Linked DNA regions of Homo sapiens: all the other regions are linked to region 1. Evidence: promoter capture Hi-C in human tissues and cell types (Jung and others, 2019). All regions are on one chromosome and are shown on one strand. Each heading gives the region's core, a stretch centred on a gene start or on the middle of the fragment in contact. The rest is flanking DNA. Distances are from core to core; before and after follow the strand shown. Region 1 holds the start of ONECUT1 (one cut homeobox 1). Region 2 overlaps WDR72 (WD repeat domain 72). Region 3 overlaps WDR72 (WD repeat domain 72). Region 4 overlaps WDR72 (WD repeat domain 72). Region 5 overlaps WDR72 (WD repeat domain 72). Region 6 has its middle 250 kb from the start of LINC02490. Region 7 has its middle 210 kb from the start of LINC02490.

Evidence for each region. The method cuts DNA at HindIII sites, captures the fragments that hold promoters and counts their contacts. A contact is called where the count stands out against the background at its distance.
Region 2: a fragment that was not itself captured here is called in contact with the fragment with the promoter of ONECUT1 in region 1 in 1 of the 25 tissues and cell types used here (dorsolateral prefrontal cortex).
Region 3: a contact is called between a fragment that was not itself captured here and the fragment with the promoter of ONECUT1 in region 1, in 3 of the 25 tissues and cell types used here (dorsolateral prefrontal cortex, liver and mesendoderm cells).
Region 4: a fragment that was not itself captured here is called in contact with the fragment with the promoter of ONECUT1 in region 1 in 2 of the 25 tissues and cell types used here (dorsolateral prefrontal cortex and mesendoderm cells).
Region 5: a fragment that was not itself captured here is called in contact with the fragment with the promoter of ONECUT1 in region 1 in 2 of the 25 tissues and cell types used here (dorsolateral prefrontal cortex and spleen).
Region 6: a fragment that was not itself captured here is called in contact with the fragment with the promoter of ONECUT1 in region 1 in 2 of the 25 tissues and cell types used here (dorsolateral prefrontal cortex and mesendoderm cells).
Region 7: a fragment that was not itself captured here is called in contact with the fragment with the promoter of ONECUT1 in region 1 in 2 of the 25 tissues and cell types used here (H1 embryonic stem cells and spleen).

The regions. Positions count from the first base shown.
Region 1 is chr15:52,788,777-52,792,440 of GRCh38, forward strand. It overlaps ONECUT1 (one cut homeobox 1), which reads right to left and starts at 1,560. Exons shown (of 2, transcript NM_004498.4): 1 at 4-1,560. The coding sequence starts at 1,108. LOC105370824 (a long non-coding RNA gene) reads left to right here and starts at 1,654. Exons shown (of 2, transcript XR_001751550.2): 1 at 1,654-3,664. RefSeq lists enhancers at 1,556-1,850, 1,847-2,615, 2,616-3,383 and a silencer at 1,598-1,667. The HindIII fragment of the contact is 12,558 bases long and covers 1-3,664 here.
Region 2 is chr15:53,733,214-53,736,877 of GRCh38, forward strand. The region is part of intron 1 of WDR72 (WD repeat domain 72); the gene reads right to left. Among named protein-coding and RNA genes, the nearest start is that of WDR72, 25 kb to the right of the region's middle. The HindIII fragment of the contact is 3,948 bases long and covers 16-3,664 here.
Region 3 is chr15:53,653,307-53,656,970 of GRCh38, forward strand. The region is part of intron 14 of WDR72 (WD repeat domain 72); the gene reads right to left. Among named protein-coding and RNA genes, the nearest start is that of WDR72, 100 kb to the right of the region's middle. The HindIII fragment of the contact is 4,562 bases long and covers 1-3,664 here.
Region 4 is chr15:53,602,112-53,605,775 of GRCh38, forward strand. The region is part of intron 17 of WDR72 (WD repeat domain 72); the gene reads right to left. Among named protein-coding and RNA genes, the nearest start is that of WDR72, 160 kb to the right of the region's middle. The HindIII fragment of the contact is 3,426 bases long and covers 84-3,509 here.
Region 5 is chr15:53,520,037-53,523,700 of GRCh38, forward strand. It overlaps WDR72 (WD repeat domain 72), which reads right to left. Exons shown (of 20, transcript NM_182758.4): 19 at 3,182-3,286. The region is part of intron 5 of LOC105370826 (a long non-coding RNA gene); the gene reads left to right. Among named protein-coding and RNA genes, the nearest start is that of WDR72, 240 kb to the right of the region's middle. The HindIII fragment of the contact is 7,774 bases long and covers 1-3,664 here.
Region 6 is chr15:53,368,311-53,371,974 of GRCh38, forward strand. No RefSeq gene overlaps it. Among named protein-coding and RNA genes, the nearest start is that of LINC02490, 250 kb to the left of the region's middle. The HindIII fragment of the contact is 4,841 bases long and covers 1-3,664 here.
Region 7 is chr15:53,324,369-53,328,032 of GRCh38, forward strand. No RefSeq gene overlaps it. Among named protein-coding and RNA genes, the nearest start is that of LINC02490, 210 kb to the left of the region's middle. The HindIII fragment of the contact is 5,329 bases long and covers 1-3,664 here.

The DNA.
Region 1 (3,664 bases), core at 310-2,809:
CACCTGCTAAGCGGAGCGCGGACATGCGCTGGAACTCCGGCTCCTGCAGCCACTTCCACATCCTCCGGAAGGTCTCCCGGCCGGATTTGAGTTTGCTCCAGGGTTTGGGGTTGCGCAGCAGGTCCGAGAGGGTCCCCTGGGAGCGGCAGAGCACCCTCTGCGCGAAGATGGCCTGTGGGATGCTGTAGCGCTTGAGCTCGGTGGTGATACGCTGCGCCACCTCTTTGGTATTGATCTCTTCCATCTGCCCTGAATTACTTCCATTGCTGACCTGCGCGCCGGTCACCGAAGGGTTGGGCTCCCGGGCTGTGCCCAGGAGTTGCCCGTGGCCCTGGGCGTTCAGGTGGGCGTGGGGATGGTGCGGAGGAAGGCCGTTGATGGGCACCATGCCGGCCGAGGTGGGCGTGAGGTGCTGCTCCCCGTGGCGGCCGAGCATGGCCGGGTGGTGGGCTTCGAAGCCGTTGGGGGTGAGCATCTTGTCGGTGGGCATGGCGGCCCCCGGGTGGGCATAGTGGGGGAGCCCTTGCTGGGAGTTGTGGATGCTGCCCAGACCGGAGCTGGAGAGGGGCGAGAGGCTCTGGCCCATGCCGGCCACGTCCTTGTGGTAGGGGGTATAGAGGTTATTCATGGAGGCCAGCCCGCGCTCATCCCGCATGAGCGTGAAGCTACCGCTCACGTTGCCCGCCAGGCGCTGGTGGTGGTGCGGGTGGTGGTGGTGATGGTGGTGGTGGTGATGGTGGGGGAACTTGTCCGAGACTGTGGAGATGGGAGGCAGCGGCTGCAGAGGGGTCAAGGTGGTGTAGGTGGTGGGCATGCTCATACCTGGGGGAGTCTCGCAGGCCATGGTCATGGTGGGATGCAGGGGGCCGGCCAGGCTGTGCTCAGGGGCCCGGTGGTGGTGGTGGTAATCTCCGCCGCCGCTGCCGCCGTCCAGCAGGGACGCCATGCCCATGGAGCGCGGGTGCGCGGGGGGCAGGTGGCTGCCGCGGTGCGCCACGGAGCTGCGCGCGTGGGGGCTGCCGCCCAGCAGGTCGGCAGGGGCGGGCACCGGCTCATGGCTCACCCCGTGCAGCTCGCCGATCGCTTCCATGGTCAGCTGCGCGTTCATCGTGATCCGGGCGAGCAGGCGGCGGACACAACATCGATGTGGCCAGGCAGAGGCGGCGAGGGGCGCACGGAGTCCGGTCTTCACATCGGCTGCTGGCGACTGTTGCCTTCCTTCCTCTCACTGTGGGGCTCTGTCTCTCTCTCTCTCTCTCTCCGTGTGTGTGTGTCCGTGTGTGCGTGTGCGTGTGTGTGTGTGTGTGTGTCTCGCCTTCCCTCTTACCCCCCACCTTCCCCTCTGCGTCCTCGGCTTTTTTTTTTTTAATATTAATTTCCAAAGAGGATCCGCGCCGTTGGGAGAGCGCAGTGCCCCAGCCCGCCCGCCTCGGCCACCTCTCGCCCCTCTCTTTCTTAAAATTCTGAGGTCTCCGGCTCCCCTGCCGCGGCCCGCGCGCCTGCCGCGTCTGCTGCCTGCCCGCCCCGCTGGCCAGCTTGAGCCATGGCTCTGTTACTGTTACAGACTCTGTGGCCGCGGTTCGGTAGCCGCCGCCGCCGCCGCCGCAGCGGCCCGCCCTCACGCCCGCCAGGCGCAGCGCGCATGCGCGAGGCCCGCCCCCGCCCCCTAGGTCGCGGCGCGCCAGGCCCTTGGCGTCCCGGTACAAATGAAGGAGGGGGCCCAGCGCCTTCCCTGCGGCGCTGGATGGCCAGGGAGCTGCGGGCACGTGCGAAAGATTGGCGCAGAGCGCGACCTGGGGCCGCCGCTGCAATCCCAGGAGACTCGCGCCTGGCTCGCTCGCCTCCCTTGCTTGAGTGGGCTCTGTCCTCCCAGCCCGGGGACGCTCGTGTCGGGCTTCTAGCGGCTGGAGTGCTGTGCTTGGAGACATCGCCCCTCTCTCTCCAGTTGCTGCTTCCCGGTGCAGCTTGCCCGGGGAGCTGGGGACTGTGTCATCACCCCTTCGGCTCTAGCCCACTAAGCTTTATTTCCCGGGGGGCTGCTGGGAGTGCGCTTTCCCACCCTTGAATTCACGGCCTATTGGGGGATGGGGGTTGGGGTGGGGTGGGGTGCAGATTGCTTAAAGGGCTGGGTCCGTTTGGCGGCCGTTGACCCGGCACCCTTCGTCCTCCCAGATACATACTTGCCCACCCTTTCTCATCCATGCCCTGGGGAGAGGAGTAATCAGTGCCAAGAATCCCAGTTCGGGCCATACCTCACTGTCCCCCGCCGCCTGGCTCCTTCTCCCGCTCAGCTCATAATTAAGGCTGTGCGTCCGCTTCGCCGATGACTCGGCCTGTGGAGGGGGGCGAGGGAGAGCGGAGGGAGTGCCCTGGAGGGTACCCATGTTAACTTCCGGGTGCTGGTGGGGCCGTGGAGGCTCGGGCCGTCCCTGCGGTTACTCCCAAGGCCCTCCTGCTAAAGCACCCGGAGGCGGTTGCTTTCCAGAAGTACTGACGCAGACAGGGTGGACGCCGGCGCGCGGGTCTCCGCTTGGCCCCTAGGGACGCCCTTTTCCCGGCGTCCCCGAGAGACGCCTCCAGATTTGAAAATCAATTCAGCTTCGGGAGTAATTTCGCCCTTCCCACAGTCACGCTCCAATCTGGAATCGAACCTGGTCTTTGGGCCTGGTGGGGACGTGTGCGGAGGCCCCCAGTTTGAGACGTACACCCGGCCGCCACATGCCGCGGCTTTCTTTCATTTACAAAAGAAAGAAAAAAAATCCGCAACAAAAGGCAGAGCCGTGTCCGCTTAGGTGCTTTCATCCCTCAGAGAAAGGACAGATGTGCCCATTGTCCAGCCCGTGGCAGTTATGGCCGGGTCAGCGCCGAGCCTCAGCCCCAGGCAAGCGGTGGTTACAATGAGAATAGCCTCTCAGAGCCGGGGTATCTGGACTCAGATATGGAATAAAGTGTGTGTAGCCTGTGCTGGGCCAGACTCAGACTGTAGGTTTGCTTGCTGGGGCACCGAACTGCAGCCCACCCGTGGTGTTTCCACTGCAAATGCTCCCAAGCCCTTAGAGAGGCCAAGGCTGTGGTAGTGGTGGTAGTTGGGTTTCCAAGGCAAAAGTTTGGGCTGGCCAACCCTTTGGGAAAAGTTCCCACCGGCCCAGGCATGAGTAGGCCTATCTCTTTGCCCAGGTCCCTGCTACCACCAGGGCAACATCCTAATCCAGGTAGGTCAAGTTCAGTGGATACAGTCAACGTGACTTCCTTGAAGGCGGCCATGTCCTGGGACTGGTTAATCTAGCTGGTTTTATCACCAGAGGCACTCCCATCCTGTCCAAACAATGCATATGGAGGCCCTGCAAATAATTCATCTCAATGGATTTCATGTCTACTTTCATAATGAACAGTTAGGAATTTAGGAACCCCCAGAGAAGAAAAGATATTTTAGGGAAAATACACTGATGTAAAGGAACTCAGAAAACACGATTAACTCTTTAAACTTGTATCTATATCTACCTATTCATACACGCATACACACAAGCACAAAACATATATTTCCTGCCTAGTATATTACAGTACCTTGGTGGAAAGCTGCATCTTTGGTTTTTAATTGTTTCCATTCTCATTTCCTACAGCATGAGACCAAACAATGGGTTAAAGTAGCAGGGAGTCTTTCAGC
Region 2 (3,664 bases), core at 740-3,239, 940 kb after region 1:
GGAAACCGATAATATTACAAGCAGATTTATGATGACCAAACTTCAATGATGTGTTCTCCCAGTGCTATGGAAAAGGGTGTTTCCCCGTCAATTAGAAGAGAAAGTAGTCATCAGAAACTGAAATTACCATGCACACTGCTAATTCATCAAACAAGAATGACTTATCTTCGAATTCCTTATTATTGTTGAAGAGAAAGAAAGGAATGGTCTATTCACTTCACACCCAGCTCTTCCTGTGGCTACATCCAACTTGCTGCAAAGTCCTGCTGGGCCTCTCAAGAAGCATAGAGCTGTCTACATGGTATAATTTGAAGCCAGCTTTGCAGACTCTCTCTCCCTAGAAATGTTACCTCATCTAGGTAATAAATACCTGAAATTGGTGAATTTGCTATTAAAAAAATAAATCTTTTCCATAAAAACAGTGTTTCCTAGTCTTCAAGATTCATGTATGACTGTCATGATTTCTGCCATATTCTATTTTTAATAATAATTTTTATTTTACCTATTTTTATGTTTGGTATCTTCCTAAACAATAATCTTTATGAAATTACTACATTCATATGTTAGTTACAAGGGTTAAAATGAATACATAAGTATCAAAAAATGTTATCTATGACCACCCAAAGTATCACTCAGTGATGTGTGCATTATATTTTGTGAAACACTGAGTTAAATATTCTCCCCAAATTGTCATTCCTTCCTGAAACACAAACAATTTTGGGAGACAATTTAGCATTATATATTTAATCCCATTAAAAATGTCCGAAAGAGAGGAGAAAGGGGCCAAGCATACTTCCCACATTGCTTTGAGAAAGTCAAGAAAATGAAAACCTTCTGTCCTGCAGGATTTCTGTTGCTAAACCACCAAAAGTGTAAATACCAATATAAATTTTTAAAACTTATGATACATGTTATTTCTAATGTTCAATTATATGTCTACACACACACACACACAAATATATACATAAACATGGGTGTGCACTGACACTATGAACACAAATTTTCCTTGTAGTTCCATTGTCTGGAATTCAGTATCTAGTTCCCCATTTTCACTTCTTAGGTCAATATGTTAGTCTATCTAGTCTATAATACACTTGCATTATTCTAACTGCCATGTCCAAACACCATGAAGCCAAAGTTTCTACAGGAAATGTTCTGAGCATTGCAATTCTGAATACCAGGATTATACATATTAATCATACTACAAAGCTACCCAGAGAGTTCTGATTTCAATAATACTGTAACCAGAACATGGACCTTCTTCTGCTTCAAACACAGAGAAAAATGCATTATACCTATTTTTAAGTTGTTGCTTCCTGACCAAGCTTATCAATAAGTCTGGAAAATCCCAAGCAGTGAAAAACTAAGAGAAACCAGAAAACCAGTACAATAAGTATTAGAACTAAATTAGTATGTGGCTTTTTGGCTAGGAGTTTGCATATTAATCCCTATGTAAGGATAGGAAGCAAAACTCTCAGAAGTGGCCTTGCTCAATGAAAGAGGAACAGAAAAACTACCCCAGGAAGATAAGAAAGAGTATTTCCAAATCTCCCAAGAAAAATCTGTCAAGCCTGAAGTACAAATGGGTTGGGACTAAAAAAAAAAAATAATAATATTATATATAATTCCGGAATGAATTTCTTCACATGGGGATTCTGGAGTTATGTATAATACTTTTATAATAATTATATATAAAAAATTGTTTCCAGGTCAATGATACTATTGGGAGGCTTGTCAGAAACACTACAGACCTATTTGAATATCTAAATTTTTTTAAAAGACCATGACAAGTGTTAATGGCTAGGCGCAGTGTCTCAGGCCTGTAATCACAGCACTTTGGGAGGCCGAGGTAGGTGGAGCACTTGAACCCAGCAGTTCAGGACCAGCCTGACCAACATGGTGAAACTCCCTCTCTACTAAAAATACAAAAATTAGCCAGGCATGGTGGCACACACTGGTAATCCTACCTCGGGAGGCTGAGGTGGGGAAATCACTTGAACCCAGGAGGTGGAGGTTGCAGTGAGCTGAGATTGTGCCACTGCACTCCAGCCTGGGCTACAGAGCAAGACAGGGGGGAAAAAAAAGACCATGACAAGTATTAAGAAGAATGTACAGCAACTGGAACTCATACACTGACGGGGGGAACGTACAATGGAAAACAGTTTGGCAGAAATAGGTCAGTGATTGCTCAGGGAAAGAAAGAACAGGGAACAGTGACATTACAATGGGGAGTAAGAAAAGTTTTGAAGGTGGTAGATAAGTTCATTATTTTAATTATGGTAATGGTTTCATGAGGGTATACATATGTCAAAACTTAATCAAATTTATACTTTAAATGCATTTATGTATACACACAAATATTATGTGTGTCAATTATACTTCAATAAAGTTGTTTAATGTTGTACTTAAGGCATTCTGAAAGACACTCTCACTATCAAGAGTGAACGAGATTTCTGTAAAACAATTAGCCCCAGTAGCAAATAATCTTACAATAAAAAATTATAAAACATTCAAGATAAACCATGAGCAAACAGAAAGATTAGTACCCCAGGAACTAATAATAAGTGAACAATCTAAAACATATTTCAAAAGAAGAACAAATATAATAAATTATTATAAATCAATAAATAGACAAAAGATGAAATTAAAAACCCAAAGAAAAAACCTACAAAAGGTAGACTTTTAAAAGAAACAAATATTACTTCTAGAAATAAAACATAATCGTTAAAATATAACAAATCTCAAAAGGACAAATCAGAATAGACCCAAGTGAAGGGAGAATAATTAACTTGAATACAATTTTCAGGAAATTTCCCAGAATACAGCAAGAAGTCATTAAAAAAAAATGAAAATGTTGAGTAAAAAGAATTCAGAGACATTAAGATAAATCAGAGATGTTAAGAGATATAGATGCTAAGTGAAAAGACCCAATATTTATCTAATATAAGCTCCAAAAATGATAGAACCCTTTCCCTTCTTTGCTAATTCAGTCCTAAAGCCATGGAATATTAATAGAACAGAGCAAGAGTGGAGTGTTGGAGTTCAAATAGTATGAGGAGGGCATCAGGATAGGAAGACAGTGGAGTCAGAGGCCAGGGATGGTGAGTGAGGTGTCCAAATGTGGGGGCAGCTGCATGTAAGGTGCAGCCTCCAAGGAGGGTGAAGAGGAGTAATGTATACAGGGCTGTCTGGCACTGGGTATTGGAGCAGGAACAAGTGAGAAAGGAGCTCACATAATGAGGTTCCTCAACAAGGAGTGTCATGAGCCTAACAGGGGTGAGGACAGTGAAGGAAGTGGCCCTGCTGTGAGGGGCCAGAGCTTGGGCAGGGTGAGGAGGACATCAATTTACAAGGATGGTCTGGCACAAAGTGTTGAAGCCCAAGGAGGATAGGAAGGCATGCACACTGAGGGGTGTTGAGCATCCTGAGAGCACTTGTAGGATGAGAAAAGTTGCTGCCTGAAAATGTAATCAGATGTAGTAAAGGAATACAGGGATAAGCAGGATTTTCACATATTAGGCAGTGGACAGGTCCACAAGAAGTGTTAAAGCCAGAAAATGATCAGGAGGGCATCCACACAGAGGACAGGGTAGCACGTTTACAGGAAATTGGTTACATAACAGACTGATGGCAAATAATTAGTATATTGCTTATTTATAACAGG
Region 3 (3,664 bases), core at 752-3,251, 860 kb after region 1:
TAACTGTAACTGTCCCCTTTGAACTTACACTGGAGTAGAGGGTAGAGAAGATACAAAATGAAATAAAAAGGATGCTGAGAAAGAGAGTAACAGAAAGTGGGCTGCTACCTGCATAATGGTAAACTGACATCGAAGTTAGACTTGAAGGTATAGAATTGAGGTGAAAATATTCTGGCAAAAGACTAACATCAGTGGAAATATGAGTTTCTTTAATGAGGCCAAATAGTTGGGGATTAAATATCTGGGTCATGGGACTGAACCTGTAGTTGACGTTTTTCATCTTTTTTAATGTATGATGTTTGATTTGGGTTTTTATCACAAGAATGAATGCAACTCAGATTAATAATAATGGAATGCTCATTCTTAGTTTCTTTTCTTTCTGTCATGCTTGTGGAAGCTGAAAATAATATTTCATAAACAGTTATGTGAGTTCAATAGACTGGAAATTATTATGGCTGAAGAATATGTGTAAACCTTACGGGACATCCCCTGCCCCACATGATAAGTGTCAAAATCAAATTTATAACTCCAAAGATACTCTTGCTAAGAAAATAATAGAGTTCCTAGTTTAGGAGATATAATATATTTTAAAATAATAGTACTAAATAGAAATTTGAATTTTATGAACATTCTGAAATATTAAAGAGGATATTTCCTAGGTTTTGATTATGCTTAAATATACCCAGTCTGGAAATCAACACAAAATTACCAGTGGATAGTAAAAATCAATTAGAGTTCTTTCCCAAGTATCACTCATAAACTACTGACAAAACCTGCTCTAATTCTCAAGTGAAGAAACTTTTAATTATAATATGATGTATGTGTTCATGCTGAATGAAATTCAGTATATCCTGAAAACAAGAATCAAAAGCAACCATACTAAATGATTTATCAAGAAGACATCAGGTAACCACAAGAGGGCTGCAAAAGATTTAAGAGATATGATGTATCATTCATACATAACGAGACTTTCGTAGATTATATTACTTAGTCCCATTATACTTCATGATTTGTCTGTGAATTAAATACCCATTTATTATACCCTTTATACAGATAGAGAAGTAAGGGCCCATATCCTTAGATTTTATTAATTAGTGAAAGATAAACAGATTTTGATAATTATTTCCTGTTACAAAACTGAAGTCTGATAAAATATAATAACTCAATGTTTTAAAATACAAGAACTTGGTCCTAGAATTAATGGACGTAGAACATTAGATGAAGGCAAAAAAACATCAAGTTGTGGCCCCATAGCTGGGCCTTTGCGGTAGGTGCACAAGAACAGTGAAGCAAACCATCATCTGAGGTACTGTGTGTTATATGGACACTTCCTCACCATGCAGCTCATTGAATTTTCTGTAACTAATCTCAGTAGCTATCTTGATTAAGATAGAAGGTAGACCATTTAAATCAGATGTATATTGAGGGCATAATTTGTCATGATTAATTGGATTATCATAAAAAGTGAAAATTTTGACAAAACACACTCAGAACTGTTAGTTTTCTGCTTCTATCTTACTAATTCCATCCTTGTTAACACCAGAAATTTAATTACTAAAAATATGCCTCAAGATATTTTAAGCTGATCGTTAGCATACATAAATGTTAAAGTCATAAAATAAAGATACGCTTAAGAGATCTTGGCCAGGTGCAGTGGCTCACGCCTGTAATCCCAGCATTTTGGGAGGCCGAGGCAGGTGGATCACCTGAGGTCAGGAGTTCAAGACAAGCTTGGCCAAAATGGTGAAACCCCATCACTACTAAAAATACAAAAATTAGCTGAGCGTGGTGGTGCACACCTGTAATCCCAACTACCCAGGAGACTGAGGCAGGAGAATCGCTGGAACCTGGGACGCAGAGGCTGCAATGAGCAAGGATCGCACCACTTCACTCCAGCCTGGGTGACAGAGCAAGATGCCATCTCAAAAAAAAAAAAAAAAAAAAAAAAAAAAAAGAGATCTTAAAGACAATTTGTTACCATCTATCAACCTGACTTTATAATTGATCTGGTTTAATAAAAGATAGGTCCTTGGTAATTAACAATTTTGGACTGACAATCATATAATAAAAACTTTGTGAAAGTTCAAGATTCAGGTATCCTCTTAGATTTGGGGAGATGTCAACTGTCAAATAATTTTCTCATTTGAGCCTCAAGATAATCACACATGAAGAGAAAGGACCCATACTATTCTTTCCATATTTTGCCATCTGATTACATGATGAATGTCATGCTATGGTTGTTGTAAAACAGAGATTGGCCTGAGAGACAAGAAAAAGGAAAACAAAACATCTGCTACCAGAGAATCAATGGAGAAGGCCACGTTTTATATAACGACAAGAGACCTCTAGTGGGAGCTCAGAAGAAAGTAATGAAGGTGAGCAGGACTTTGCATTTTGTAAGTTTTTTTTTTTGAGATGGAGTCTTGCTCTGTGGGCCAGGCTGTGGCACAAGCTTGGCTCACTGCAACTTCTGCCTCCCAGGTTCAAGCAATTCTCCTGCTTCAGCCTCCTGAGTAGCTGGGATTACAGGCATATGCCACCACGCCTGACTAATTTTTGTATTTTTAGTAGAGACGGGGTTTCACCATGTTGGTCAGGCTGGTCTTGAACTCCTGACCTTGTGATCCACCCACCTCGGCCTCCCAAAGTGCTGGGATTACAGGCGTGAGCCATGGTGCCCAGCTTTGTAAGCTTTCTTAATGGCTTTCTAAAAGTCATCAGGTTTTGGGCAATATGCGAAGACATAGAACAACTACAATTTTCAGTCCCATTTGATTGTGCATGGAGTTAAATATGTGCATAAGAAAGCCCCTGCTGCTCACAGCAGCTTGTTAGGATCATTTTTATATCTGACAGGAATAATCACACTTGAACCAAAAGATTATGCAGGATATTTTAATTTAGGATTAAAGCTGTTTGCAGAATTATATAAGCTATATAGTATGAAAAAAATTACAAATAAATAAACGTCATTTGGAGATGCAGAGAACTGGTGGTGCCTTCAGGGCATCACTATTAAAACAGAATTCAGAAAAATGGGCAAGAACGTTAGCTGGATGTATTTTTTTAATAAGTTCATGCTCTTAGTTCCAATAAATAAAGATAAAGTCTTAATACATTTTGTTTTTAATAGTATGGGGAAATATTCCATGAAAATAAATGCTTTCTTTTTTGAGAATTGCTTCCTGTTAGTTTTTTGCATTTGCTACTCTCTTAGGGCCAGTTTCAACATAAGTCATTGGTACAGAAGTAGTGCTCCTGTTGGGATTGCTTTAAATGGGTCCACATGGTACTCTCAGTCAATAAGTGGTATTACCAGCTTTCAACAAGAAAGATTTTATTCTCCTCCATTTCTTTCCAGTTATAAGCAACTAATAGTTTGAGTTAACATTTGAATTCTACAAACATCATTTTTTTCCAGAAAATACCATCCAGTGCATTAGTCATTAAAAAAACAGAATAGAAACACATTTTAAAGAGGTAACATTTATAATCATTTTAATCAGAACCAACAAGTTTGCTCAATAACAGAGCATCCAAATCCACTGGAGTGAATTTGGACCCCAATAAATAATAACCTCTTTAAGTAGGTGGGATAGGGTCATCTTTTGGGTACTACAAGAAGCAGGATCTTAACAAATTGTGAGAGGCTACATGTTTTTAA
Region 4 (3,664 bases), core at 547-3,046, 810 kb after region 1:
AAATAACTGAAATCATAACAAACAGTCACCAGGACCACAGCACAATCAAATTAGAACTCAAGACTAAGAAATTCACTCAAAACCATACAATTACATGGAAATTGAATAACCTACTCCTGAATGACTTTTGGGTAAATGACATTAAGGCAGAAATGAAAAAGATCTTTGAAACTACCAAGAACAAAGATACAATATACCAGAATCTCTGGGACAAAGCTAAGGTAGGGTTAAGAGAGTAATTTATGGCACTAAATGCCCAGATCAAAAAACTAGAAAGATCTCTTGTTAACAGCCTAACTTCACAACTAAAAGAACTAGAGAATCAAGAGCAAAAAAATCCCAAAGCCAGCAGAAGACCAGAAATAACCAAAATCAGAGCTGAACTAAAGGAGATAACTCACAAAAAAATCTATTCAAGAGATCAACAAACCCAAGAGCTGGTTTTTGGAAAATAAAATAAAATAAAATAGATCACTCACTAGACTAATAAAGAAGAAAAGAGAGAAGATTCAAATAACACAATCAGAGATGATAAGGGGGATATTACCACTGACCCAACAGAAAAGCAATCCTCGGAGAATATTATAAGCTAGTAATATATACACGTGACCTAGAAAATCTGGAAGAAATAGATAAATTCCTGGACACATGCACCCTCAAAGACTGAACCAGGAAGAAACTGAATCCCTGAACAGACTAATAATGAGTTCTGAAACTGAGGCAGTTAAATAAACAGCTTACCAACCGAAAAAAGCCCAGGACCAGACAGATTCACAGATGAATTATATGAGATATACAAAGAAGAGCTATTATCATTCCACCTGAAACTATTTCAAAAAATAGAAAAGGAAAGGATTCGTCCCTAACTCATTCTATGAGGCCAGCATCATCCTGATACAAAAACCTGGCAGAAATATGACAAAAAAAGAAAATTTCCTGTCAGTATTCCTGATGAACATCAATGAAAATATCCTCAACAAAATACTGGCAAACCAAATCCAGCAGCATATCAGAAAGCTTACCCACCATGATCGAGTATGCTTGATCCCTGGGATGCAAGTTTGGTTCAACATATGCAAATCAATAAATATGATTCATCACATAAACAGAACTAAAGACAAAAACCACATGATTATCTCCATAGAAGCAGAAAAGGCTCTCAATAAAATTCAACATCCCTTCATGTTAAAAACTCTCAATAAAGAAGATATTGAAGGAACATACTTCGAAATAATGAGACATATATGAAAAAACCACAGCCAACATCATACTAAATAGGCAAAAGCTAGAACCATTCTCCCTTGAAAATCAGCACAAGACAAGGATGCCCTCTCTTACTACTCCTATTCAACACAGTATTGGAATTTCTGGCCAGGGCAATTCCACAAGGGAAATCAATAAAGGTCATTCAAGTAGGAAAAGAGGAAGTCAAACTACCCTTTTCGAAGATGTCATGATCCTCTATCTAGAAAAGCCCATCATCTCAGCCCAAAAACTTCTTAAGCTGTTAAGCAACTTCAGCGAAGTCTCAGGATACAAAATCAATGTGCAAAAATCATTAGCATTCCTATAAACAACAGTCAAGCTGAGAGCTAAATCACAAACGAACTCCCATTCACAATTGCAACAAAAAGAATAAAACACCTAGGAATACAGCCAACTAGAAAGGTGAAGGATCTCTACAAGGAGAACAACAAACCATGGCTCAAATAAATCAGAGATGACATAAACAAATGGAAAAACATTCCATGTTCATGAATAGGAAGAATCAACGTCATTAAAATGGCCATACTGCCTAGCAATTCACAGTTTCATTGCTATTCATATCAAGCTATCAACGTCATTTTTCACATAACTAGAAAAAACTATCTTAAAATTCATATGGAACCAAAAAAGAGCCTGAATGGCCAGGGCAATCCTAAGCAAAAAGAACAAAGTTGGAGGCATCACGTTACCTGATTTCAAACTATACTACAGGGCTGCAGTAACCAAAACAGCAAGGTACTGGTACAAGAACAGACACATAGACCAATGGAACAGAATAGAGAACCCAGAAATAAGATCACACACCTAAAACTATCTGATCTTTGGTGAACCTGACAAAAACAAGCAATAGGGAAAGGATTCCTTACTTAATAAATGTTGCTGGGATAACTGGTTAGCCACATGCAGAAGATTAAAACTGGACCCCTTCCTTACACCATATACAAAAATTAACTCAAGATGGATTAAAGACTTGAATGTAAAACACAAAATTATAAAAACCCTGGAAGATAACCTAAGCAATACCATTCGGGATATAGGCATAGGCAAAGGTTTAATGGCAAAGATGCCAAAAGCAACTGCAACAAAAGCAAACATTGGCAAATGGGATCTAATTAAACTAAAGAGCTTCTGCACAGCGAAAGAAACTATCAATAGAGCAAACAGGCAACCTGCAGAATGGGAGAAAATTTTTGCAAAATATGCATCTTACGAAAGTCTAACATCCAGAGTCTACAAAGAACTTAAACAAATTTACAAGAAAAAAAACTCTATTAAAACATGGGCAAAGGAAATGAACAGACACTTTTCAAAGGAAGACATATATGTGGCCAAAAATCATATGAAAGAAAGCTTAACATCACTAATCACTGGAGAAATGCAAATCAAAACCACAACGAGATAATACCTCACACTAGTCAGAATGTTGAAGTCAAAAAATTATAGATTAGAAAATCAAAAATAACAGATGCTGGAGAGACTGTGGAGAAAAGGAACGCTTATACATTGTTGGTGGGAATGTAAATTAGTTCAGCCATTGTGGAAGACAGTGTGGTGATTCCTCAAAGACCTAAAGACAGAAATACCACTCAACCCAACAATCCCATTAGTGGATATATACCCAAAGGAATATAAATCATTCTATTATAAAGACACATGAACATGTATGTTCATTGCAGATCTATTCACAATAACAAAGACATGGAATAAACCTAAATGTCAATCAATGGTAGACTGGATAAAGAAAATGTGGCTCATATACTCCATGGAATACTATGCAGCCATAAAAGAGAACAAGATCACGTGCTTTGCACTGACATGGATGGAGTCGGCGGCCATTATCCTCCAGTAAACTGACACAGGAACAGAAAACCGAATACTGCATGTTCTCACTTATAAGTGGGAGCTAAATGATGGGAACACTTGAACACGTAGAAGGGAACAACCTACACTGCAACCTACTGAAGAACAGAAGGTGGGAGGAGAGAGAGGATCAGGAAAAACTACTAATGAGTACTAGGCTTAATGCCTGAGTGATGAAATAATCTGTACTGCAAACCCCCATACACAAGTTTATCTATGAAACAAACCTGCACTTATACCCCTCAACTTAAAATAAAAGTTTTAAAAAAGTAAAATCAAGCTAACATAATTCAACTAACTGCTTAAATGAATGGCTTTATAAGTAATTTGAGGATAGCCGGGCATGGTGGTTCACACCTGTAATCCCAACACTTTGGGAGGCCAAGGCGGGGGGATCATTTGAGGTCAGGAGTTTGAGACCAGCCTGATCTACATGGTGAGACTCTGTCTCTACTAAAAATACAAAAATTAGCTGGGCATGGTGGTTCATGCCTGTAATCCCAGCTACTTGGGAGGATGAGGCAGAAGCGTCGCTTGA
Region 5 (3,664 bases), core at 682-3,181, 730 kb after region 1:
ATCAACTTCACTTTTTCCAAAAACTTTTTCTGTGCTTCAATGTCCCTTTTGCTTTCTGCCTATGAAAATACGTTCGTATTCACAATATAAAACCAGAAGAGTTTAAAGTAAAATGATGTTTACAAGGTTTGCAAAGAAGAGAATTTATGTGGAATGAACAATATACAAAGCAATATACTTGAACTGTGTTTGCATGGAAAATACTTTTTTTCATTTTCTATATGCTGTTCAAACAACTGAGCTATTCATTAAAATGATGTAATAATTATATTAGTCATTTAGCATTGCATAGATAAAACCATGTAAGTTCAATATCCATTAAAGTTAGAAGATTGACCACATTCAGCTTTGTAACTGGGGGATTTTGCAGGTACATAAAAATGTTAAAAGGAATTTTAAATGAATGAAAACATTCCAGTTGAAAATGGTAAGAATGTGCATTCAGAATTAAATGCACTCTTTTCCATACAGTGACTAAGGAATACACTAATGCAATTGTAAGTTTAGCTACTGAAGCACCTCTTCTGGTTCGAGGACATTTTCCCAAATCTCACCACCTAAAAACCCCAAATTTGTTTCTTCTTCTGACTGAGGTAGTTAATATTTTCCAGAGAAACACCACTCACATGTGGTAAATAGAGGTAACTAAACCACTAGAGTAATGCTTATGGTTTTGGAACCCCTACATTTTGAAAGACTTGATATTTTGAAGTTAACGTTTGGGCTTTGAAAAGTGAAAAGTCATATTTTTATAGTTCAAGAACATCCCTCTCTGCCACCAAATTCACACGAGAAACATAAAACTTATTTTCCTCCATGTTCAATTTTAAGAATTTTGCCCATCGAATACTCATGCTTCAAGGAAACACACTCTCTCATCAAAATCTTTCTTACTAAACAAGCACCTCTGTCAGAAGTGTCTTAATTTCTTATCACAGAATTTTATCCACACAAGGAGCAATAAATAATTCATGTCACTGCCTCTTTGTTGTGTGTCCCTGAACTGCACAGAGCTGGAAGGCTGACAGCTGTGTCAGGACAAGCACCAAAGATCTGACATGACAAGTGACTAACAAGTTTCTTTCAGTTCACAGTGAAAGAAGACAATGGCCCAAAGTGCAGAAAGAAATCCTAAAACAAAATAAAACTGCTTCTTTCTTTTTAGCTAAGTGTTTGCTATGAGCTTATTTCCAACCCACAAGCCCTGGTCATTTTATAGGACTGCCCAGCCCCCTTTATTCCTCACACTGGCTTGGCCATTTACTCCTGGCCACGGATCAATATGAGCAATTCTTGGAGAAATACGATGTCTCCATGACAACCAAGCCACAAATTCTCAGTGGAAGGCAGTGAGACCAGTAGTGAACTCTCCAGAGGTTTCTAGGCCTATAAGGCAAGATGTCTTAAAATGCAGGAAGGGACAGAGGAAAAAGCCAGAGTAATTCATTCTTTATTACCAGCATAATGATGTCCGATGTATAGAACGGTACTCACTTTTTGAGTTAAGATTCTTTATCAGCACCTATATTTTCTAATTAATCTTTCTTTCTTGATAAACACGTTTGTGTGTATCAATCAGATAGAGAATGTTATATTTGAATCTCGCTCCCATTCCATTCATATTAAGGGATGATGGAAATTTATTCTACTTTTGAAATGATATAAAGCTGATCTATTCTTATCAAAAACAATGGACATTTAGGTAAAAACCTGATTCACAGATTTACCTGTCTGACAAAATGAGTAATAGAAAACTGTATTAAGACACTTTTAAAACCTAATAAAAATTTGGCAACATTAGTCAAAACTAAAAGTAATGGATAAATAATTTTTATTATAGAAATTTAACACTACCATTTATTTACCCTCTCCCTTTTAGAGTGAGACTCATCTACATTTTTCTTTTGGCTATTATGGCAAGGGGTGGGGTTAATTTGCTCATTAAACATTTCTGTCACTGCTAAAGATGCCATTTCTCAGTTCCATGGGATCTGAAAGCAGAAGTGTGGTTGAGAACAGGCACAGGGCAGCAGTCCATCTTCAGAGGAATCTTGGTGGAGTGAAGAGGACTGATATACAATGCCATCGCCACTGCGCCTATTGGGGTTCCGAGATGACTTAGGGGACCTGACATAGATTGCAGGCTGCACCTTTCACTGAAAATTAAATCTCAGTAACTCTCCTTGGGGAAGGATCAGGGGACTGTTTGTTTGCAGCTGCCCCCTGTCAACAAAGGCTACAAGATTTGGAAATCTCTTAACTAAGCTGACAGGCCACAGAGAGGATGAATCAAAAATATGATACATGGATCAGCACACAAAGATGTGAGAGGGTAGAGGGTACACAGGAGCCAGATAAAACAGGAATCACAAATATTAAGTGGAGGAGATATTTAACTCTTTCATTCATGATAATAAGGTACCTTCTAGCACCTTATAACTTTGTATTTATCCAGGAATGTTCATTCGACTTTTACAAGATTTTTTGATTCTAATTAATTAGTTAAGGCTAGGCGTGTTTCAAAATGAAACAAAAATAGAAACAGAAATCCTTGTATAAGTGTTTCTAGCTGTATCCTTCTAGTACATTTCTCTTTTATTTCTATAAAGGATATATACAAATATGTAACTTTGACAAAGAAAAGCTTTTATTGCATGAGAGAAGGGTTACTATTTTCTAGACTTTATTTTCCCTAAACATTTGACAGTATTCATTACCATCATGCTAAAATCCTGTCATCCCAGTTACAGTCCTGTTTGTTTCTAGAAAGGTAAATAGAATTGTAATGATGACAGTTTCTCTTTTCACCCCCGTCTGTCCACTTCCGCTCCCCTCTTGTTAGTTTCCATTATTTGAAATATTTAAAATGTTGCCATTTCTCTATAGTTTCCAATCTCTGGCTCTATTAACCATTTAGCCTAAAATTGATGATAATGAACTAATAGTGTCAGCTTCCCTTCTCAGTCATAAAGCCTTTGTACTTCCTCCAACTGAATTCTTGATGAAAGAGGAAAAGATAACAGCTCCACACTGTGACCCCTGGAGGTGACCATTAATTTGACAGTGCAGCTGCTAAGAGAAAACAGCATTACAATGTCCTCTCCCCTCACCCCCTTCCAAGGACCCCAAAGCTGTGTCAAATTTATCATTTTATACTTGACTATTTTTAAATGGCTTTCACCTGGACTCTCAGACTCTTCCAAGGCACATCTGTCAGGCATGTCCTCCACGTCTTGGAAGTTTGCCGAGTTTGAGTTGCTGTCATGCTTGACCGGGCTGACTGGAGCTATTAAAAGAGAGAGAGAGAGAGAGAGAGACAGAAGAGAGAGGATGAAAAAGTAGTAGCAAACACCATTAAAACATTTCCTTTCAGTTCCACAGATATTTCCAGGGACACACTATGTAAACACAAATAATAAATTGAAATAAAATGTATCCTCTAAGTATTTATTGGCAGACATGTAATTAGTTGAAAAATCTATAGATGTGACTTTATCTTAGAAGAAAAATAAGTTCACGGCATCAGCTTAAAAGCTACAAAGTAACAAAGTGATCTCTTCGAAGTAGAAATCGTATTTTTAATGCATAAATCTAAAACAATATAGTCAATTAACAGCAATAGAACACAGAGAGAAGAACATCAGGCTAGTCAATTAGAAAGACC
Region 6 (3,664 bases), core at 843-3,342, 580 kb after region 1:
CAAAAATACACATGCACTTTATTAAATTTATTTAAAAAACAATGGAAGGGCAAGCCATTAAACACGGGGAAAGAACAGAATAAGCTAGAATTGACAGGAATAGGGGGATTTTTCTTGAGGAATTTTACTTTAGAATCTGCTAAACTGTTTACATAAATATTAAAACATAACTAAGTTATAAGAAAAGTCTTTTAAAAGACCTTAAACTGGTTTCCATAATCATTTCTATTGATAGTTTCAGCTTTTTTAATTATCTGTTTTATATGGTATATATATTTGCTAAAACAAATGAGTAATTATCTGAGTGTCACTGAGAACTGTGGCTTTTGACATGGGATAAAGGAGATACATATGTAAGATCAGTGAGGTTAAGTAAAAGTACTGTATTCCTGAATTTGAATTAGAAGTATCAGTACGGATTTGTGATGATTCCAGCTTTATTAAAATATACGTATTTCTTAATGACTTCCACTAATGATAGATTCTCTTTCCAGGAACCAATCTTCTTATCAATAACAACTAGAAAAGTTAGACAAAATATCGAGAACATCCATTCAAAGAGAACACATCAGACAGCTTTCAAAGGTGCCAGGACTGAAGAAGAAAAAATTTCAGAGTAGGAAAGCCCACAAAGTGAGATATTCTACAGTATTGTGCCTTTTGAGGAATTTGCTGATTTTTAAGGGATTTGGGAGCGAGAGAAAAGCAGAGCAAAAAGTGATAGTTCGGTGGTTAGGAAGCTGAGATACAGTTTTTTCAGTATTGTGGTGCTGGGGAAACACAAATTGGAGGTGAGGGTGGGATAAGTAGGAAGAGTGCTGTTATTAATTCTAGACTTTCAGTTAAGAATCCTTAAAAAGCTATATTTTAGTATATTTTAGTAATAGACTGGCACACAGAAAAGAGCACGACCAAACTTCAAACAAGCTCTGTCAGTCCCACTCATGGAATAAGGCAATCTGTTCCTATTTACCAGCACTTTAAAAGTAAAAAGCTTCTCTGGGAAAAGATAACAGCAACCAGAGCTTTGTTATCACTATAATTTTGTATATGTCTGGTATTCAATAAAAAAATTAACAGGCATAGAAGAATACAGGATCAAATGACCAAAAAACGAAGAGAAAACAGAAGTAGATCAATAGGCAATAGAGATATCAGATAATTCAGACACCGACATTAAAGTAACTGTGATTCATAACTCAAGAAAAGAAATGACAAGATAGAGGAATTCTTCAAAGAGTTTGAACCTATTAAAAATGACAATTCTAGAATTAAAATATAATATATATAATTGTAGTAATATAATTGAAATTATGGACTGAATAGGTGGGTTTAACAGGAGATTAGACACAGAAGAAGACAGATTTGTAAAATCAGAAGGTAAATCAATATAAAATATCCATACTTAAGGACAAAGAGGAAAAAAATTTTAGTACAGAGAAACTAACAAGAGTATTAAAAAATGCCACAGTATCTATGTCTAACAAATGTATAATTGGAGCCTTAGAATGAGAGAAAAAAACGGTGCAGAAGCAATATTGGTAGACATACTAGCTATAAATTTTCAAAAAACTGAAAAACATCAATTCTCAGATTTAAGAAGCTCTACAGACTCCAAGCTGTTTAACAAGAAAAGCATACCAAAATAGACTTAATAGTTAAATTGCTAAAAAGCAATGAAAAGAAAAAAATAATTAAAGCTGACAGAGAAAAAGAAAATGACATTACTTTCAAAGGAGCAACAATAAAACTGATACTTGACTTTTCAAAATAAATCATGGAAGCAAGAAAAAAGTTTATAGTTCTGAAGGTAACTGCCAACCTAAAATTATATAGCCGATGAAAATATCCTTCAAACATAAATGTGAATAAAGATGTTTTTGCAAAACAAAAAATTGAGAGCATTTATCATTTTGAAAAAACACGCTTAAACTTTGTAAAAGTTTATTGCATAAAATTATATATCAATAACTCTAATTAAAAAGAAAAAGAAACTATTAAAGGGAATTCTTTTGGTAGAAGAAAAATGGTCCCAGAGGAAAACATGAATATATGGGAAAAACTGAAGAACACTAAAAAGGATAAACCTGTGGGTAAATCTAAATGAATACTGATTGTACAAAATAGTAATTTTAATATCTTATATGGATATTTAATATCTTATGTGGATATATATATATCTTCTATGGTAACCACTATGAGCAGATTATAAAAACATAGAATAAGCTAACATTTTAAAATAAAATACTATTATATATTCTAACAGTTGGGAAATCTTTCATTATATTTATTCTTAGGTACCCTTTTTGTTGCTATTATAAATTATATATATATATTGTTGCTAGTATATGAACATATAATTGTTTCATGTAGTAATTTATGTCTACCCAACTAGTTAAACTCTCTTCTTCATAATAACAATTTTTGTGGAATTTTTGGAGCTTCTATATTGGCAATTATATTATCTGTGCATAATGAGAGTTTTTTCTCTCTTGTTTTTATTTCCTATTTATTTCTCTTGTTTTACCATGTTTGCTAGGATCTTGAAGACAATGGTGAATGGAAGCAGGGTCTCTGGACATATGTCTTATTTCTGATATTCAAGAGAATTCTTAGGATAATATTTGTAGTTTTCTGTTAGTGAGGTTAACAGAGTTCCTTTGTATTTCTAATTTACTAAAAATAATTTTATCATGAATCTTATAAAATGTTTATGCATCTACTCAAATCATTTATTCTTACTTATCTATTAATATAGTGAATTACACTAATCGATTTTTCTAAAGTTAAACCAATCTTGAATTACTGAAACAAACTCAACTTGGTAATGATCTATTATATTTTTAATATATTGCTAAATTCCATTTCCCAATATTTTGTTTCTGATTCTTGCATCTATGTTTTATAAATGAAATTGGCCTGTAACCATTCTCTCTTGTAATGTCCTTGACAAGTTTTGACATTAAGACTATATCATTTTTACAAAAGAAGATGAGGGGTTAGTTTTCACTCTATTTTCTAATTTCTGGAGGAATTTGCATATAGCTGCAAGAATCTGTTTATTAAAAGTTTTTAAAGCTTATTTGTAATATGTTTTGGGCCTAGAGTTTGTTTAATGGGAATGTCAATATTAATTTTTTAAATTTCTTTTTCAGTACATTTCGTTAAGTATATTTTTCTAGAAGTGTTTTTTTGTGTTTTCAAATTGTACACATTTTAAATTTGTTGAAGTGAAGCTGTTTATTTTATTCTGGAATTCCTATTGAAGTTTTATCTTTGAAATCTTATTTTCTTGTGAAGATGAGATTCCTTGTTGGCTCACTTTGCCCACACAGATTTTTGTTTAGCCATCATCATGAATCTGCAGCACCTTCAAGTGTATTAGCTTTATATGGAATTTTAAGGTTTAGCTCCTACTTTGCACAAGTCTAAGTCTTTCATTTCATATACTATCATTTATTCCCAACTTCTAGGATTTGGTCAATGGCATTTCCCGTGAGGGTAATCCCTATGTCTCTGTTCTTAATGCTCTAGTTTGAACTGTCTTTTAGAAATTTCTCTTGCTTTGTAGTGAGCACCACGATGCATAAGTAAATGTGTTGTGGTTCATACGTCATCTGCGTTTATACATTTGCAGAGGAAAGGCTTTTCAAAATTTTCAGTC
Region 7 (3,664 bases), core at 464-2,963, 540 kb after region 1:
TTTCCAGTACATCCCACCCGTGTGCGCTGCAGTTTTTAATCCATGAATCGCCACAGCACAAGTCCTTTAACTGTTTACAAGCCACACACTCAGAATAGATGTAAAAATCAGCATTGATTTTTACTTTAAGCTTAGAAAGGTTCACTTACTTTTTCTGTAGCGGATGCTGCCAATAATTGCACTTGTGGCAGAGCTGTGCCAAGTGTTCCGGATCAGCCAAGGCATCTGAAATAGGAGGAATCATCTGGGTTAGAAATTGCAGTTTATTTCTCCTCCCTTCAGTGTAGGCTTCAACATTTATCATTCACTTTGCTACACCTCCATAGTAATAATGTAAGAGTTACGTAGCGCAAGAGTTATTTCTGTACTTTTCTTTTAAAAATAATGATAGCAATGACCTCTTACGTAGCACTTTTCAGCAAATAATGTATACATTTACTTTAATATACAAAGAGACTACACAGAATTTTTTAAACAACCTTGTGAGGTAGAATTATTCTCTTCTCTCTACTTACAGAAGAGAAAACTGAGGCTCAGAGAGGTTGAGTAATTTACACAAAATCACACAGCTAGTAAAGGGCAGACCTGAAACACAAGGCAGGCCATTTAATGTCAGAGTCAAGGCTCTTTCCATTATTCTATGCTGCCTTCTAATAACACTTTCAAAGAGCAAGTTTTTGCCTCTAAAACCTAGTAATAGCCTTTTCAACATGCTGAAGTCCAAGTCAGAGGATCGGGGGCATATACCATCCAGGCCATATTCACAAAGAGTAGACAGCCACAGAGAAAGGCAAAGCATACAAATGGCTACTTTGAAGCCCAGCTATTAATATGGATTACTGCACAGCTGATGGCATCCGAGGACAGCCACGTCAATTTAGCAACAAGCAGTGATGATCTGCGTGAGCTCTGCTGTCATCCATTCTGCACATGCCTAAAGGTGGGCAAACTTGCCATCTGAAAAATAGTGGGGTGCACAGCTTAGGTACCTCCCTGGTAGTGCACAAAAGCCTCTGATCTGGCCTTCTGCACAGTTGCAGAGTGTTCAGAAAGCTTGGAATGGCTCTTTGAGAGGGTCTGGACAAGGTTTGGATCATTTGGGAAGGAATGTGGCTTGCAGAATGGGCTCAGCAAGGACTGGCCTCTCCTGGGGAGTCCTGCACCATTCCTGCACTCTCTATCCTCTGCCTCCCCATCCCCCACAGCTGCCACGGAGCTGACAATAAAAAACGATGCCCTAGGCTGTCCTGTTTTTATTATTAGTTATATGGCATCATAAATGTACATCGAGATGTTCAGTAAATGAAATTGTGCCAAACACCAAACAGGGCCGCTGCCCCAAAGATCTTTTGGCTTTAGGGCAATGGCAGAACAATATAAGAGAAACAAAGGGGACTGAGAGCCAGATGAGGTGAGGTTTTAGTACTGTTTGACCTTTCAGAGGAGGAGGATCTGGCAGCCCAGGAAACTGAGAGGTACAGCATAGGAAATGCCTGACAGCTCAAATGGGCTTTGAGGCCAGCAGTTCAGGGTCCCAGGGATGGATAGGAGATGATTTTGGAAAGTCAAGGAAATTTGGCCCTTATGTTATTTAATAAGATAAATGCAAAAGGGTGGAGGTAGGTGAGACTATTTGCTCCTAATCATGAGCAATCTGACTTAGATAGTAGGGGCATAAGCAGAAGATTCGCCCTCTTTGTGTCCCTTTAGCTTCCACGTAGTAATAAATTGCACAGACTTCTCCAGCAGATGCAATGTGTAAATATAGGACAATAACTGGAAATTTATGAGGTTAAATACTGAGGAATTGCTGAGTAGTAAAATGAAGAGACATAAATTACAGGAAATGCTGCCCTTCGATGAATACATTATGCATAATAATGAAACCTTTAAAAGGCAATAGTAACCAAATATCAGAAGAGGGTCTAAAAGGAGAAAAGCCACACAAAGAACTGGGACTAGGACAGTCCAAAGACAGAGCTACTTTATCACTATTAAGTAGTCATATCAGTTCTCTTAGATTTCTGTAGCTCTTAAGGGAGGACGAAGTGGAATACTTATTTAAAAGAGGTTATCTGGTGTGTAAAGAGTGTAGGGAGTATGGTCTGAAGAGCCACTGTGCTTCACTGCCCATGTAGCTTGGCTTTATGAACCTGTTATTCCATCTACAAAATGGTTTTAATAAACCCATTTCATGGAATTGTAAACATTGAAAAGTACAAAATGTGAAACACATAGCCCAGCATATAGGAATTTTTTTAAAAAAAATGAGTTCCCTGTAAGACTGATACCAAATGTTAATAAAGGTTTAGCAAAATACAGATGAGAAAGATGGGTCTCGCTAGAGAGATTAGGAAAGATTTAGGCAGGGAAGCATTTGAAAACTGGTTAGGTATTGATGAAGAGACGGGAAGAGTATGAATCAAGGCAAGGAAGAGAGAAAGGACAAGGAGTTTTCTGGAACTAAAAGGCAGGGGAAATAGATGACAGTAAGGAAAAGGATCTTGGTGCCCAAATCCTGTAGGGTCTTGACTGGAATGCCAAGTCATCTGGCCTTTGTTCTCTAGGCACTGGGCAGGCATCAGAGGTATAGGAACAGGGGGTCATATGGTCAGAGAGGTATTTATGGAAGATTATTCTGGCACAGTGTAAAACCATATTGGCATTGGGAAGGACTAGAAGCAGGGAAGCCAAATAGGGGACTGCAGCAGGGATATAGGGAAGGAAGCACGAATGAGAGTTGGAGCTAGGACAGAGGCAGAGGGGATAGAAAAGAGGAGACAAATGTGGGACATGGAGGATGCTGATCTGGCAGCATTTGGCTATTAATGGATTATGGAATAATGGAAAGCAAGGAGTATAAGATGGCTCTGAAATTTGAAATCTAGGAGACCAAGGATCTGGTGATGTCATTAATAAAAATGAAGAGGATGGGAAGAAGATGAAAGAAAATTTTAGATCTATCAAGTCTGGGGTACCCATAGCATTTCCAAGAACTGTTGAAGAGGCCACTGGAAATGTAGTCCTGGGGCTTGAGCCTGAACTGGCACCCATGTCATTGACATCTCAGTCCTAGTTGAACCATGGCACTGAGTGGGACATCCATTGGAGAGAGAATGGGGTGGGGATGAAAGAAAGTAGAAACAAGGGGAAGAGAGAACTAGGGCAAATGGCAGGAACTGTGTCTGCCTCAGGCAGGACAAGGAGAGAGCAAAGAAAGTAGAGACAGAGCATGACAGAGATGGAACAAGGAGGGTGTTTCCATGTGACAGCCAGCAGCAGCATCAAAAGTTAGAGAAGGGCAGAGGTGGGTGCGAGCTGAGAAGGAACCACGGGACTCAGTGACTTTGGTAACAAGTAGTTATTTCTTGCCCTTTCCCAAAATGTATTTGAAGATACTTAAAAGATTATAACACACATTAAGTAGGAGAACTGAAATAAACATTTTAAGAAGACAGCTCAATAATGAACTAGAAGGTGGCACTAGAAGTGAGTTAAGTGCTGCAGTTGAGCACTAGATTTAGCACTGAGTTTCTTGGCAGGTAGGAGATTTAGAAGTCATGGTATGCCTTTAAGGGTTCAGTTTCATTGGGGGTAAGAAACACACAACTTACACGACTTAGGATAGAAAGGGATGTAGGGTAGGGGGTGAGAAAGGAAGTGG